4 separate regions of the Homo sapiens genome follow, and regions 2, 3 and 4 are each linked to region 1. The links are contacts of gene promoters, found by promoter capture Hi-C in blood cells and fetal thymus (Javierre and others, 2016). All regions are on one chromosome and are shown on one strand. The core of a region is centred on a gene start or on the middle of the fragment in contact, and the rest is flanking DNA. Distances in the headings are between cores, read along the strand shown.

What was found. Contacts are between HindIII fragments. The CHiCAGO score rates a contact against its expected background, and 5 or more counts as called.
Region 2: a fragment that was not itself captured here is called in contact with the fragment with the promoter of SPATA19 in region 1 in 1 of 17 cell types (M2 macrophages); the score reaches 5.3 in M2 macrophages.
Region 3: a contact is called between a fragment that was not itself captured here and the fragment with the promoter of SPATA19 in region 1, in 2 of 17 cell types (M2 macrophages and megakaryocytes). The highest score is 6.9, in M2 macrophages.
Region 4: a fragment that was not itself captured here is called in contact with the fragment with the promoter of SPATA19 in region 1 in 3 of 17 cell types (M2 macrophages, endothelial precursors and monocytes); the score reaches 9.3 in M2 macrophages.

The regions. Positions count from the first base shown.
Region 1 is chr11:133,843,894-133,847,167 of GRCh38, reverse strand. SPATA19 (spermatogenesis associated 19) reads left to right here and starts at 1,655. Exons shown (of 7, transcript NM_174927.3): 1 at 1,655-1,799; 2 at 1,978-2,034; 3 at 2,528-2,659; 4 at 2,831-2,922. The coding sequence starts at 1,722. The HindIII fragment of the contact is 7,074 bases long and covers 1-3,274 here.
Region 2 is chr11:133,035,448-133,038,721 of GRCh38, reverse strand. All of the region lies in intron 1 of OPCML (opioid binding protein/cell adhesion molecule like), which reads left to right. Among named protein-coding and RNA genes, the nearest start is that of OPCML-IT1, 330 kb to the left of the region's middle. The HindIII fragment of the contact is 7,417 bases long and covers 1-3,274 here.
Region 3 is chr11:133,067,293-133,070,566 of GRCh38, reverse strand. The region is part of intron 1 of OPCML (opioid binding protein/cell adhesion molecule like); the gene reads left to right. Among named protein-coding and RNA genes, the nearest start is that of OPCML-IT1, 300 kb to the left of the region's middle. The HindIII fragment of the contact is 2,337 bases long and covers 524-2,860 here.
Region 4 is chr11:133,102,419-133,105,692 of GRCh38, reverse strand. All of the region lies in intron 1 of OPCML (opioid binding protein/cell adhesion molecule like), which reads left to right. Among named protein-coding and RNA genes, the nearest start is that of OPCML-IT1, 260 kb to the left of the region's middle. The HindIII fragment of the contact is 627 bases long and covers 1,459-2,085 here.

The sequences.
Region 1 (3,274 bases), core at 406-2,905:
TAACATTGTAATCAAAAAGCAAATAGATTTATGTATGAGCTTCATTTTGACAACATAAGCACAGGATATGTCGTCGAGAAACTAATGAAAATTTTACTTCTGAAGTGAGTTAGAACAAGGTTGAAGGTATGGGGAAGAGATGGAACGTCCTTGAATGTATCTGTTCATGTTTTGATTTCTGAATCACATTAATATTTTAAATATTCAAAAATAAAATTACATCAATAAGGATGAAAACATAAATTTTAGGGGATAGCTGTAGAAACAGAGATGTTGACAGGTAATTTCATCTGCTATTTTACAATTTCCAGTCTTCCTTGGAATTAGGTAGGGGCCATAGGACTAGTTCTAGATCAAAAGCTCTAAGTAGGAGCCTCTGAGCTGAAAGGTGGAACACTGACCTGATTCCTCTCTGTGCTCTCTTCCCTGCTTTGGCAGTCATGGAGGTCGTGTCCTCTGAATGTGGACCTGTGAGTCTCCACATGGCACACAATTGCTCTGAAATTACCCAACTTGCACGAGAGCTTTTGAGAGTGAGAAATAAACATTTTGATTTGGAGGTTGGTTTGTTGCCTCAGTCCTCAGCAGAGCCTAGCCGATTCTGACTATGTCAGGGATGATATAAAATTGAGGCGAATTGTTGAGAGGGAAGACGTGTAGTGGCTGTATCAGGGGAATTGGAGAAAGTGATAAAAGGTTTTCTATAATCCTGAGAAGAATAAACGTGGGAAAATTTTTGGAATATTAGAGTTAGAAGAAAGCTAGGGACACAACTCTATCCCTTTCAGTATAAGACAAAGAAACTCAGACCAGAGGGACTAATGATTAGGTCAAGAGCACATGACAAGTTGTTGCGGGACAGGTTGTTACTGGTGGAGGGTGTTCAGGTTCTTGGCGTCTTAAACAAAGAAATGGACAAAACACACAAACGAAGGAAAGAATGAAGTAACAAAGGCAGAGATTTAACGAAAATAAAAGTACACTCCACAGGATGGGAGCAGACTGGTTACAGAATTTTCTGGGGTTTAAATACCCTCTAGGGGTTTCCCATTGGTTACTTGGTATATACCCTATGTAAATGAAGTAGTGGCTCATGATCAGTCTGATTGGTTGCGGAAAGTGACCAATCAGAGGCTGAAGTGAAGTTATAAAGTTATATCTCTATGCAAATGAAGACCTGGCCCACAACCAGCCTGATTGTGGGAGGGGAGCAATCAGAGATACTTTCAGTTTTTCATCTGCCATGCAGAAAAGGAGAGGGTTGCAAAGGGCGTAGCCTCTGGTCTTTTTGTTACTTGGGCACGGAAAGTTGGGGTTTTCCTTTTGATTTAGTTCTAGGAAGTCAGTGTAAATCGGCCTTAGGTTTCCTGGCTCCAGACCCCATCCTCCTGCCTGGAGGTGAGCTCCCAAATTAGTGCTTTCCCAAGAAAAGAATTCAAGGGTCAGCCAATGGTGTTAGACAGCAATCTTTTATTCAATGGTTCTGCTCCTTGAAGCAGGGTAACTCATAGGAGTGCACCCAGAGCCTGAAATGCAGGGGCTCTTGGCAACGGCATTTATACTCACATACATCATTTTCAAAGGGAGGCCATTGTCACATCACCATGGGTCAGCCAATCAGGTGGACACCTCCCTTCAATGACCTTCCTGTCCCATAGGAGTTCTCAGGCAGCTTCAATGGAAGGAGGGAGCCAAGAAGGGGGCCTGGTATACATTCAAAGATGATAATTACGACATGGATTGTGTATATTCTTGCTCGGAAAGGTGTAGGGCTTCCCTTCCTACCAATAACCAGTTCGGTAAGCAGCTTGGTGGTAGTCACATGGAATAATTTTTCATATATCTTCTCCCCCTGTGGGACCCTGCTGCACTTCATAGAGATCTTACAAATAAATTTGAGTAACAGTTGCGGGGGCTGGGTGGGAAGAGCTGAATTTCTAGGTTTTCTGAGGTCACCAACTTGCCAATTTGTTCCAGGACATTGACGTTGTGGAAAGTGAGGCTGTGTCTGTACTACATCATTGGTTGAAAAAAGTGAGTAAGATTTCTTTATGACTCAGGATATCCAAAATGCTAGAGAAGTGGTCTCAGTGGGTGTGGGGATCTGGACTTCCTTCTTCATGGAACTGGAACTCAAGTTCATTGCCAGACACCCTTCCTAGATTTGAGTCTAATTTCTTCACATGTGCTGGAGGACACTGTGGCTTGTGTCCTGGCAGGAAATGTGTTAGCACCACCACTAACGCCGTCCTGCTTCTCAAGCATCCTGGCTTAAGGGTTTCAGCTGCATCCTTCCCAGCTCAAGGGTGTCTCAGGAACACCTTGGGATAGGGCCAGGGACTTAGGGAGTTCTGAGGACTTTACAGGGAAGTAGCTTATTGTGGGAACAGTGAGGTAAGGAGTGTATGTGTGTGAATATGTGGTGTGTGAGTTGTGATGGAGAATGAATAAAAGGAAAGGAAGAGGAGAAGAAGACCCAGGGTTGGATGCAGAGTGACATTTTCAGAGGGAATTTCTCACCTTTCAGACAGAAGAAGAGGCTTCTCGGGGCATAAAGGAAAAGCTGTCCATCAACCACCCTTCCCAGGGTGTAAGGGAGAAGATGTCCACTGACTCCCCTCCCACCCATGGCCAGGACATCCACGTGACCAGAGATGTGGTAAATGAGAGTTTGAGACCTTGCCTGGGAGTAGCGGTGAGGGAGAGGGGAGAGGTGGGAGGTGCACCGTAAATGATTCTGGGCAAGGGTGAGGTGCTCGTCTGGGCTCTGTGCCAGCCCAGTTGGGGGCCACACTGGGCAGGAATCACATGGACCCTCTGGATTTCCCAGGTGAAGCACCACCTCTCTAAGTCTGATTTGTTGGCAAACCAGAGCCAAGAGGTCCTAGAGGAGAGAACACGAATCCAGTTCATAAGATGGAGGTAAGGTGTCCCACTTGCCCTGGGCGAAGGAAGGGGAGGGAGAGATGCGCAAGCCCCTCTCTTCACGAACCCTCAGATGCTCTTCTCTAGAGATGTCGTCTTTGGCTGACAAATTCCTCAGCCTTGCTTTGGGGTCTTAAGGGAATATCCTTGCTATCTTGAAAGCCCAGCTCATTTCTACATTTTTAAATGACTTGAGGGGTTGGAAAACTGGGCTTGCACTCCATTTCTTAAATGCTTCTGAATACATTTCAGATTTCTGTTATTTTTGCACTTGAGTTGCTCAGAAGTGGCTGCACTTTAAAGAGCTAAAAGAAAATAAGCTCTTAAAATGCAAAAGCCAAAGTTTTCA
Region 2 (3,274 bases), core at 202-2,701, 810 kb after region 1:
AGAGAGTTGTGGGATCGTAACTCAGCCCTGCCACTTGCTAGCTGTGTGACCTTGGGATATGTACTTAACCTCTCTGTGCAGCAGTTTTATCATCTGTAATGGGGGATAATAATGATCCCTATAAAAGAGTTAAGTTATGCATTCTCTAATATCTCTGGGCTAGAGCCTGGCATTATATAATAACTCAATTTTAGTTGCCATTATTTAGGAAAAAAATTAAAATAATGAATCTTTTTATAATTGTCAATCAATATTAATTACCATGGTCTCCTGATAGTCATAGCCCATGTTGGCTAACCAACAACCTTGAGGCAGGGAATTTATTACTTTTCCCACATTTTATAGATAAAGAAACCAAAGCCTAAAGATGTTCTACAGGACTGTGAAAGGAAGGGTGAGGAAAAGCTAGGAGATGAGTGTCCCACCCGAGCTATAAGCAGCCCCAGAGAGACACTAAGACAGGAGCTGATTGGGACCAAAGGCATGGCCCACATGGCATGGCTGGGTGTGGGAAGGGACAGACAGGGCCAGCGCCCAGGGCTCCTAAGTCTGCACCCAGAGCTCTCCCCATGCACTCGGTTCCCAGGCATCCAGCCTTGCAGGCAGAAAGAGAGGTGGCCACCACCCTACTTGTAGAGATATGGGCCAAGAGTGGAAAGGTCTCTAAAATCCTTCTGCTAAAACTTGCAGTTTAACAAGTAGAGTGATTGCACATCCTCCTCCTAGTAGCATGCATTCATTTGATGCTTAGGAGACCAGCACACTGAGTCCAAGGGGACCCTAATCTCAAGGACTTGGCTCCAAACAGCCAGAAGGGGCAAGAGTGTGAGAGACGCTCAGTTAGGGTCACCCATTAAGATCAAAGGTTATCTTAATTCACACAAATTCTAACCATTTAAAGTCTTGGCCCTTTTTCTGCCTATGGAGAGTTTTATCCAGCATGGCACAGATGATGAGCTTGCTCTTCTTTGAAGGTAAGTGCTAATTGCAAGGTAACAGTGACCTTGCCAACGCAAGAGGGTGATGAGTCAAAGACAGCTGGGTTCCCTTCATTTTCTTCAGTAGGATCTGAATTTCCTACCCAGCAGCTGTGGATACCTAAAACTGACATTTGAGCTAAGTATAAATTTCACTCGCTCTCTAAAAAGGTGGCAAAATGATCTCATATATAGGAGCTTGCACTTTACACTCCAGTCTAGCTCCGAGTAAAATATACTGCAGCTAGGTTACAAGAAGACAATCTTAAATTTAGAACATTAGAGGTCATTCTGACCCACCTCCTACCCAATGCAATAATCCACTTTGAAAGACTCTGCAGATGGTCCTGCAGCCTCAACTTGAACGCTTCCAGTAACAGAGAGCTCAGTACCATGCAAGATAAAGAAAGTTTTGAGTACTTTTTTTCTTAAATTGAATCTAATCTTTGGTTTCTTATAACTCTTACGTATTGAGATTACTTCCCAGAATGATATAAGTCCTCATCCTCACAGTGGTGATCCGACTAACTTTGAAGTTAGCTCTATTGACCCAAATAAGTCTTGTCTTTTCATAGTGTTCATTTTCCATTGATTCAGCCATGGCTTTTGATTTTCAGCCTTTCACTATCCTCAATGCCCTCTTCTAGGGGACTGGATAGCCTGGTTTGTATGTTTTCGATTGGGACCATACAGTGTGGTCAGGCAGAGCCCTTTGTCATCTGAGCCAGGGTGGCCGGGAGAAACAGAACACTGTGGGGAGGGAGGACCAAGGTCATGGTCTTGGAGCTCCTGCAGAGCATCACAGAGGAACAAGCAAAGAAACAGGAGGGAGTGAAGTGCAGCAAATGGATTATGAAAGAGAAGGAGGAATAGATGTGGGACAACTGAAGATCTGGGTCTGTCCTCATGCCAATAAACCAGGCTGCCCTCCCATTCCCCACCTCACCATAAACTTAAGCTGCCAGTTCTTTTCTGAATGCAGAATGTAGTCCTGAATCAATGTCAACTTTGTAGTCTTGGATTATTTTTCTCAGAGATCAAAATATTTTTGAATCCTGATTCTGTCTTCTTGAACATTAACTATTTTTCTCAGCTTCATATGCTCTATAGAATACATTAGGTTGCATTCCAAATTCTTTACCAGGTCATTGTATAATACAACAGGGCCAAGTACAGAACCCTGAAGCACATTAGTGTGCTTGGCATGGTGTTTGATATGCTTTAATAGACCTATTGCAGTGTTTGATGATTGAATGTGGGTTAAGGAGGAAATAGCAATGTAAAAGAAATATGAGATCATCTAATTATAGCATGTGGGCATGTAAACAAATGCTAACAATAAAATTTAACATTTCTCTCACTAGACCGTGGAGAATCTTTTATTGATCTTTGCAATCTTAGCAGCTGAGCAGTGCCTGACACATAATAAGAATTTATTCCATATTTATTTTTACAAATGTACAAACACACATTCGCACCATCCTGGGAAAGAATTGGCATTAGGGAAGTTCTTAACTCGATACCATTGCACTTAAGCAGCAACCCTTTAAAGCAACCATCATTTGTTGTCCAGTAGCCACTTCTGGACACCAACTTTTCTTTTTATTTCACTTTGACATTTTAAGTAGACTTTAAAGTTTTAGTTTATCTAAATCTCAACTACTTTAAGAAAACCTGGTCTTCATGTTGATGTATTAGTTTGCTAGGGCTGCCTTAACAAAGTAATACAGGATGAGTGGCTTAAACATTAGATATTCACTTTCTCATAGTTTTGGGAACTAGAAATCCAAGATGAAGATGCTAGCAGGTTTGGTTTCTCCGAGGCCTCTCTTTTTGGCTTGCAGATGGCTTCTTGCGGTGTTGTCTGTGCCGCTGCGCCCATGGTGTCTTTTAACCTTATTCAGCCTCAAGGTTCCCATTTATAGAATGGGCATACTCATTTATGTGTCCAAATGTCCTCTTCTTATAAGGACAACAGTAATATAGGATTAGGGCCAACCCTGACGACCACACCTTAACCTAATCACCTCTTTAAAGGTCCATCTCCAAATACAGTTACATTCTTAGGTACTAAGAGTTAGGACTTTGACATGTACATTTTTTGGGGGGGCACGATTCAGTCCCCAAGAATAGGGCGTGAAAGAGAAATAGCAGGCACAGGCTCAGAGATCTGATGTGGCACTTAGCCTGTGCCACATACTGGAAGAAATAATATGAGAATAGCCAAATACTTTAGTCTAGATCTGTTCTGGCTCAATTTCCTGACTCCTTACCACTAGCCTTTTTTATGTGAGGAG
Region 3 (3,274 bases), core at 443-2,942, 780 kb after region 1:
TCTGAAAGTAGGGAGTGAGGGCTTGTAGCCAGTCCCCTTCGTCCATAGGCAATAGAATTGTGGGCCCGCCTCTGGCCATCACATCCCTGGGTGGAAGTCAGCATTCACTTTCTCCCAGGCGATGCTGGGTAGAGATTATGAAATCTTGAGCCTAAATGGACCAGGGTGGGAGAATTTACCAACTAGCAGAAGGGCCAAGGGGGTTCCGGGAGCTTTAGACAGAACAGGGACAAGCAGTGAAGCACAGAAAATTGACATTGGAAGTTGCCTGTTTGAAAGACACGACAGCCTTTGCTTGCTGCAGAGCTAATTATTATGCAAATTTATGCTAATAAACTCTGCCTTGCATGTTGTTGAGAAGCTGCCTTTTCCCGTTAACATAGCTGTAATGAGAGGTAAATTTGTAATGCAGATGCCCGAGGTAATATATCCTAAATCACTTTATGGTGGAACGGACTCTCTTGCCCCACCCGACACAAATGCCAATTTAAATTAGTTTTTGCTTTGCATATTTATTGAAGCTTTATTTATTGTTAATATGTACTAAGGACACCAACTAGACAGCCCCCACTACTTGTTAGAAGTGGAATTTAGCAGGGAGCTGGGGATTGGCTTTTGCTCATCAGGAGATCCTAGAGTTTTTTCTTCTCCCACCTAGAGCCACAGCATCAGCTTGGATGGTGCCAGAATCGTTCATGTGTCCCCCTCCTCCTCTGAGCTGGCCTCAAATTAGGCTCGGCAATGAAAAAGCAATTCTATCATGATAATTATTATATGGCGTTTCTAAGAGTTAATGGTCTTTGTCACCTCTGCCTTTGTGTTTGTGATACCACCCAGGCTTGCAGAAACACGCCCAGGAAACGGGAGTGCTGTTGAGACAATGCCATTTGTCCACTTTGGAAACTTGTGCACACACACATGCTCTCACACACTCCTATACATGTTTTAGGGCACACATGTAGCTTCAAGCCCCATTTGCATTCACATTTGTGTAGTCGCACACACACGTTTGATAGTGTCTTACACATCATTCAGGGGTGTCTTCATTCAGGTTCGAACACACACAAATTGCCACTCGCCCCTGCACCCCAGCTATGGTCTTGTGTGTAACTGCAACTCTTCTGTGAATAGGAGAGCTTGGCACTTGGATTGGAAAAGTTCTTCCAAGCAATTCTGAGATGAACCTTCGAAAACAGCACTAAAACATGAGTAATTTTGTTTCTAGTTTGCATTCTGTCACTTAAATAAATAAATATAAATAAGTGCCTACCATGTATCAGGCATAATGTTAAGAATTTTCTTGCATGGTTTCATGGTTTCATTTTCACTTATAAATAGTTCAGTTTAGGTCTATATTATTATCCCCATTTTGGAGATGGGAAGACTGAGGCTCTGCAAGTTTAAATAACTTACTCAAGGTTAATCCACTTATTCCACATAGCAAGTAAAATTCAAGCGTTCTTTTTACTACACCGTTGCTTCTTCACTAATGTCTCAGTAAATCTGAGGTTGAGTTTCTTCTACAATTTAAGATGTTAGATCTGATCCATCTAGCTCCAAATTATGATGTTCTCTGATAATGTAAGTAACTCTCTCCTGATTCTGTTTGCCTCTTTGCATCTCTCACTGTGAACTAAGTTTAAGCTAGTCACTTGCTTTAGGATTTTCGACCGACGCCACCTACCTCTTTGGTATGTGTAGGTTTCTCCTAGGGCACCTTGACCCTTAACCATTTTGTCTGACACTAGTATGGAAAAAATGAATCTGTGAAGAACTGGGGCTAACCCAACCAAATAAGATGTCAAGCAGATGTGCTAACTTATGCATACACATATTCAGGGAATGCCAAAATATCCGTCTGCTGAAAAATATCTCCAGCATTTATGTGTCAAGGACCTAGAGTTTTCCTCATTAGTATAACTCCTTTGAACCCAGTTACCCTGACAGGCCCTCCTGTGAACATGTAAATTCACATTACATGAAGCAACATATCAACTGTTTGTGCCAGCTAATTCTCGAGCATGTGTTTTGTGCATACCAGAACCTAAACAGGGGAGCGATGAGAGAACAGAGCACATGAATTTTGATGAAGAATGTACTGGAAGAAGGGCAGCGTCCGCACTGCTCACAAGACAGGCTGAGAGCAGGCCTTCCCCTTTACCATTTGGGCATAGACCTCTGCTGGCAGAAATCTCCCATATGTAAATGAAATTCTAGTGAATGAGGATGTTCTTCTGATCTATTAAGGAAAAAAAGCAGAGTTTAAGGGCTTCTTCATCTCCCCATGGCCACACCCACTGTGCCCCAATTCTAAGCTCTATTCCCAATAAACCAGAATGCCTGGGATTCTACTTCAGAAGGGCAGAGTTTTGGCTTAAGGAAATAAGCTAGGCTGTGATACTGAGCCTGGAATAAAAATACCATCTGTCAGTATCAATCTTTGCTGCTTTAAAATAAATACGTTTATTAGATCAATTTTGGTTGGAACAGTGTGCTGAGAAGAGGCCTAAAAAGAAGCATATAAATAAATGCATTATTATTGTTAAAATTTAAAATAAAACATGAAAATACTTCAAGTATAGAGAAGAAAATAGCAATGATCCATAACTGCGCCCCCAAAGATAACCATCCTTCAGACCTCCCTAGATACCATGGGGCTGCCTTGCTAAAACTTTGCACAAATATATGATAAGCATTTTCCCCAGCGGAGGTAATTTTGAAAGGGAGGTTGGACAGCATTTTACTGTGGGAGTAGGCAGACCTGGGCATGAGCCATGTCAGGGTTGAGGGATGACATCCCTGATCCTGGGGGGAGAGGCGATGGCATAGGAAGGGCCAGTGAAAGAGGCAACAAGAAGCTTCAAGACACTAACTTCATCCACCTGGCCACTTTGCCCAGGTGGACTTTGGGCATCAGGAAGTGTTTTATGCCACTGAGTGAAGACATCTTCTCCCATTGGATGTGCTTATGCCTTGGTAAAATAAGAAAGCCAGGCTAGTGCAGCTCTAAAGTTCCCTTCAGCCTATGGTTTGTTCCCCTTGAAGGAGGAGTTGATGTTCTGCTTGCCCTGAGTCCTCTCAAGGATTCAGCCAGGGTTGAGCATGAGCTCCCTGATTCAGAAGTTCCTCATTTCAACCCCCAGAGGAGTCCCACAGAGCGAATATTCTCTGTTCTAGCACGCTGAGTAGTGCCAGTGGCTGCTTTCATATTGAAGAGTGATTGGCAGTGGGAGGAGCCTGGAGTCTGGATTTGGAAGACCCTATTCAAATCCAA
Region 4 (3,274 bases), core at 523-3,022, 740 kb after region 1:
TCTTTTGCAACCCAATAATTTCAGTTGCCCTGGCTAAAAACCTCTAAATCCTTTTTGAGCCATTTTTCTTTTTCCACCAAATCAAATTTGTCATAGTCTTAATACTTTCATTCTGAATGTATCTTCACATCTTGCCATCTCCATTTTCAGCCTACTTCTGAACCTTGGCAAGTCTCTCTAAGACAATTCCCTTACCTTTGATTTCTGCTCATTTCAATTCATCTGCCCACTGGCACTAAACAATGGTTCTCACATGCATCTATCATTCATGATTAAATCAACCTATACCTTTTCTTCATTTCCTGAACCTAGAAAATCTTTTTTTTGTATGATGTAATTATAAAAATCTTGTTTACACTGCATAACCTCGTTAATGAAGCCCTCAGCAACTACACTTAGTCTGAATAAGACTTTATCTGCCTTGAACTTTGAGCTTTATCGGCACCACAGGTACATAATTAATTGTTGTCTGAATTCCTTCAGATATGCATTTACCCCTGTATTTTAGCTCTAGGCCTTATATTTTATTTTTAGCCACCATCTCAGCAAGCGTAAAGTTTATTGAACACGCATAGTAGGTGAACAAACCTTTGATTATTTTTCCAGGCAATTCTCTAAACCATAAAGTTTAAGGATACATATCAAATTCTTAATGTGCCTAACAATTCATTATACATCTATAACACATAATTTGTACAAAATTATTTTGGCCTATTAATATTTTGCTTTATATTACATCTCAAGTTAGCTGGCATTAGTGGTTGAATTCTGACTGAGAGTGACCTTTATAGGAAAATTATTCCTACAGTTTTTGATCTTGAATTGGGCCTTAATATTTTTCACTCTAACTTGGTTGTGAACCATGATCCATTTAATTAAAATCCACTTTTAGATACAAAATAAATCAACAATCTGAAGGAAAGTGAAATGTCACATTCTTCAGCCCTCTCTGTTGAGTGCTCTGAATTTCTTCTTGAAGCATTTGCTGAAGGCATTTATAGGCCCTTTTCACCAGAAATAAAACCTAACACCAGCTGAGTCAGAATCAAGATTAGTTCAAATCTTGGACATGTTTTACTTTCAATGTTTTTCCATCTTAGCAGCACTCTGAGTTCATGTTTTAATTGCCATATGCATCCAGGATGTATACTTTCAAAGCATAGACAGGCAGAATGCCAAAACACCACAAAATGGAGAAATGCCCAAAAAATTGGGATGTATCGCTAAATAACTTGTTTTATAAAAATGTTCTTCTTTTTTTCCAGGTCCCTATGAATTTAGGGTAAGTTTACTCTCAGTAACTAAACATTTGGATGCTTGGGTGAGCTAGACTCTGAACTCCTTGAGGTTTGTGGCTCTCACTCATGCCTTTCGGTCTAATGAAGGGATGGGGAGGAATTTATGATGACTCTTCCGTACTCTGGACAGCTCCTGCTGCCTGCCTGCCATGGAAAAGCTTCATCAACAGATTGTTAATTTCCCTCCTTTCTCCCTGAATAGCATTATGCCTTCTGGCAGGAAGCACTGTGTTGCATCCATCCATGCGCTCTCACCTGTGGACATGTGGAGCTGTCTAATGGGCTCCTGCTTTTTGCCCCACTGGGCTGTGACTGAGCAGGGAGACAGAGCTGTACAAGTTGCTAATTGTCTCAGCCTGTAACTCTTGAATGATGAAAAAGATTAAAAGGGAAGGAAAACAGCTATTATATCTCTTTCCTGAAAAAACTTGCACTGTGAAAGGCTCATTAACATCATTAGTGTTCCATTAACCTCTAGCCAGACAAATAAGCTGGAGGTAATTTCGGAGCATGGGGAGAAAGAAAAAGAGAGAAAGGAATTTAAAAATTATCTGGGTGTAGGTGACATTTCCCAACTACCTCGATTGAACATTTGGACAGACACCAGCAACTTTACTTACTTTAATGCCAGCCTGGTACTGGAGGGTGGCCAGAACTCTGGCTGCTAGGAAGGCCTGTAGGTAATAGTGAGTGGGGAGATGCATTGATTGGGACAAAATGAAATTCATTTTTAACACAACAACACATGAAATCTTGCAAAGAAACACTGTGTGATACAATAGAAGCTTAAAAATGTCTACTGCAAAATTATGTTCCATTGTATGAACAAAAGGCTTTTCACCTTGTAATTTTTTCCTGTCACATTTTGTTTTATTCTAATCCACACCTCCATGCCTGGCCCTCGTTGTTTGATCCCCAGCCTCACTAACTCTGCTGCAACTCAGGAAGTTGAATGCAAAGCATTGTTCAGGCTATTGATCTTTAGGTTTCCTGGTATAGAGGGGGCACTTTTTTAGATGGGGACATATTTTAGATTTTATTTTTGATTTAATCTCAAAATACAACATGGATTTTGGTGACTCAGTTTTTCTTCCTATAAAAAGAAGACTCTATAAGTTTCCCAAGTATTCTGTGTGGAAACTAGTAGACGTGTAAAGGTTGATCAAATAGAATAAGTACTAAAACTATGGTTTACAATGATTTAATACAAGCCTAAGCAAATGCGTAAGTTAAAAATGTCTGTCTCAAAGTAGGAATCCCCAGATCACTATTAGAAAAAAAGTAATGTTGTGGTTTTGGTATTAATTTTTGATGTAAAATTGATTTTCATTGTGTCCCTTTTTTGGATTCAAGTATGAGAAGCTGACGACAACAGTCAAGGTAGCTTCAGAGGGATACTCTCCCCAGGAGCCACTGGTCATTCTCTTCCCCAGAGTGGAGATGCTGGCTTTCTGCTGAGAACCTGATACAGTTCCTAGGGCTCCACTCCCTTGCTTTATAGCCCATAGTCATAATTCTATCTCATTTAGAGAGATCTCAGATTTCACATCAACACAGACATACAATTTTGAATAGTCAAAATCAAATTTGGCATAGTTTTTTTTGTTGTTGTTGTTGTTTGTTTTTGTTTTGTTTTTGTGTTTTTGAGATGGAGTCTTGCTCTATCACCCAGGCTGGAGTGCAGTGGGGCGATCTCAGCTCACTGCAAGCTCCACCTCCCGGGTTCACTCCATTCTCCTGCCTCAGCCTCCTGAGTAGCTGGGACTACAGGCACCTGCCACCACGCCTGGTGAATTTTTTTTGTATTTTTTAGTAGAGAAGGGTTTCACCATGTTAGCTAGGATGGTCTTGATCTCCTGACCTCGTGATCCACCCACCTCGGCCTCCCAAAGTTCTGCGATTACAGGCATGAGCCACCGCCCCTGGCCAATTTGGCCTAGTTTTTGAGAATGCATTTCCCAGAATAGTAGATGTTT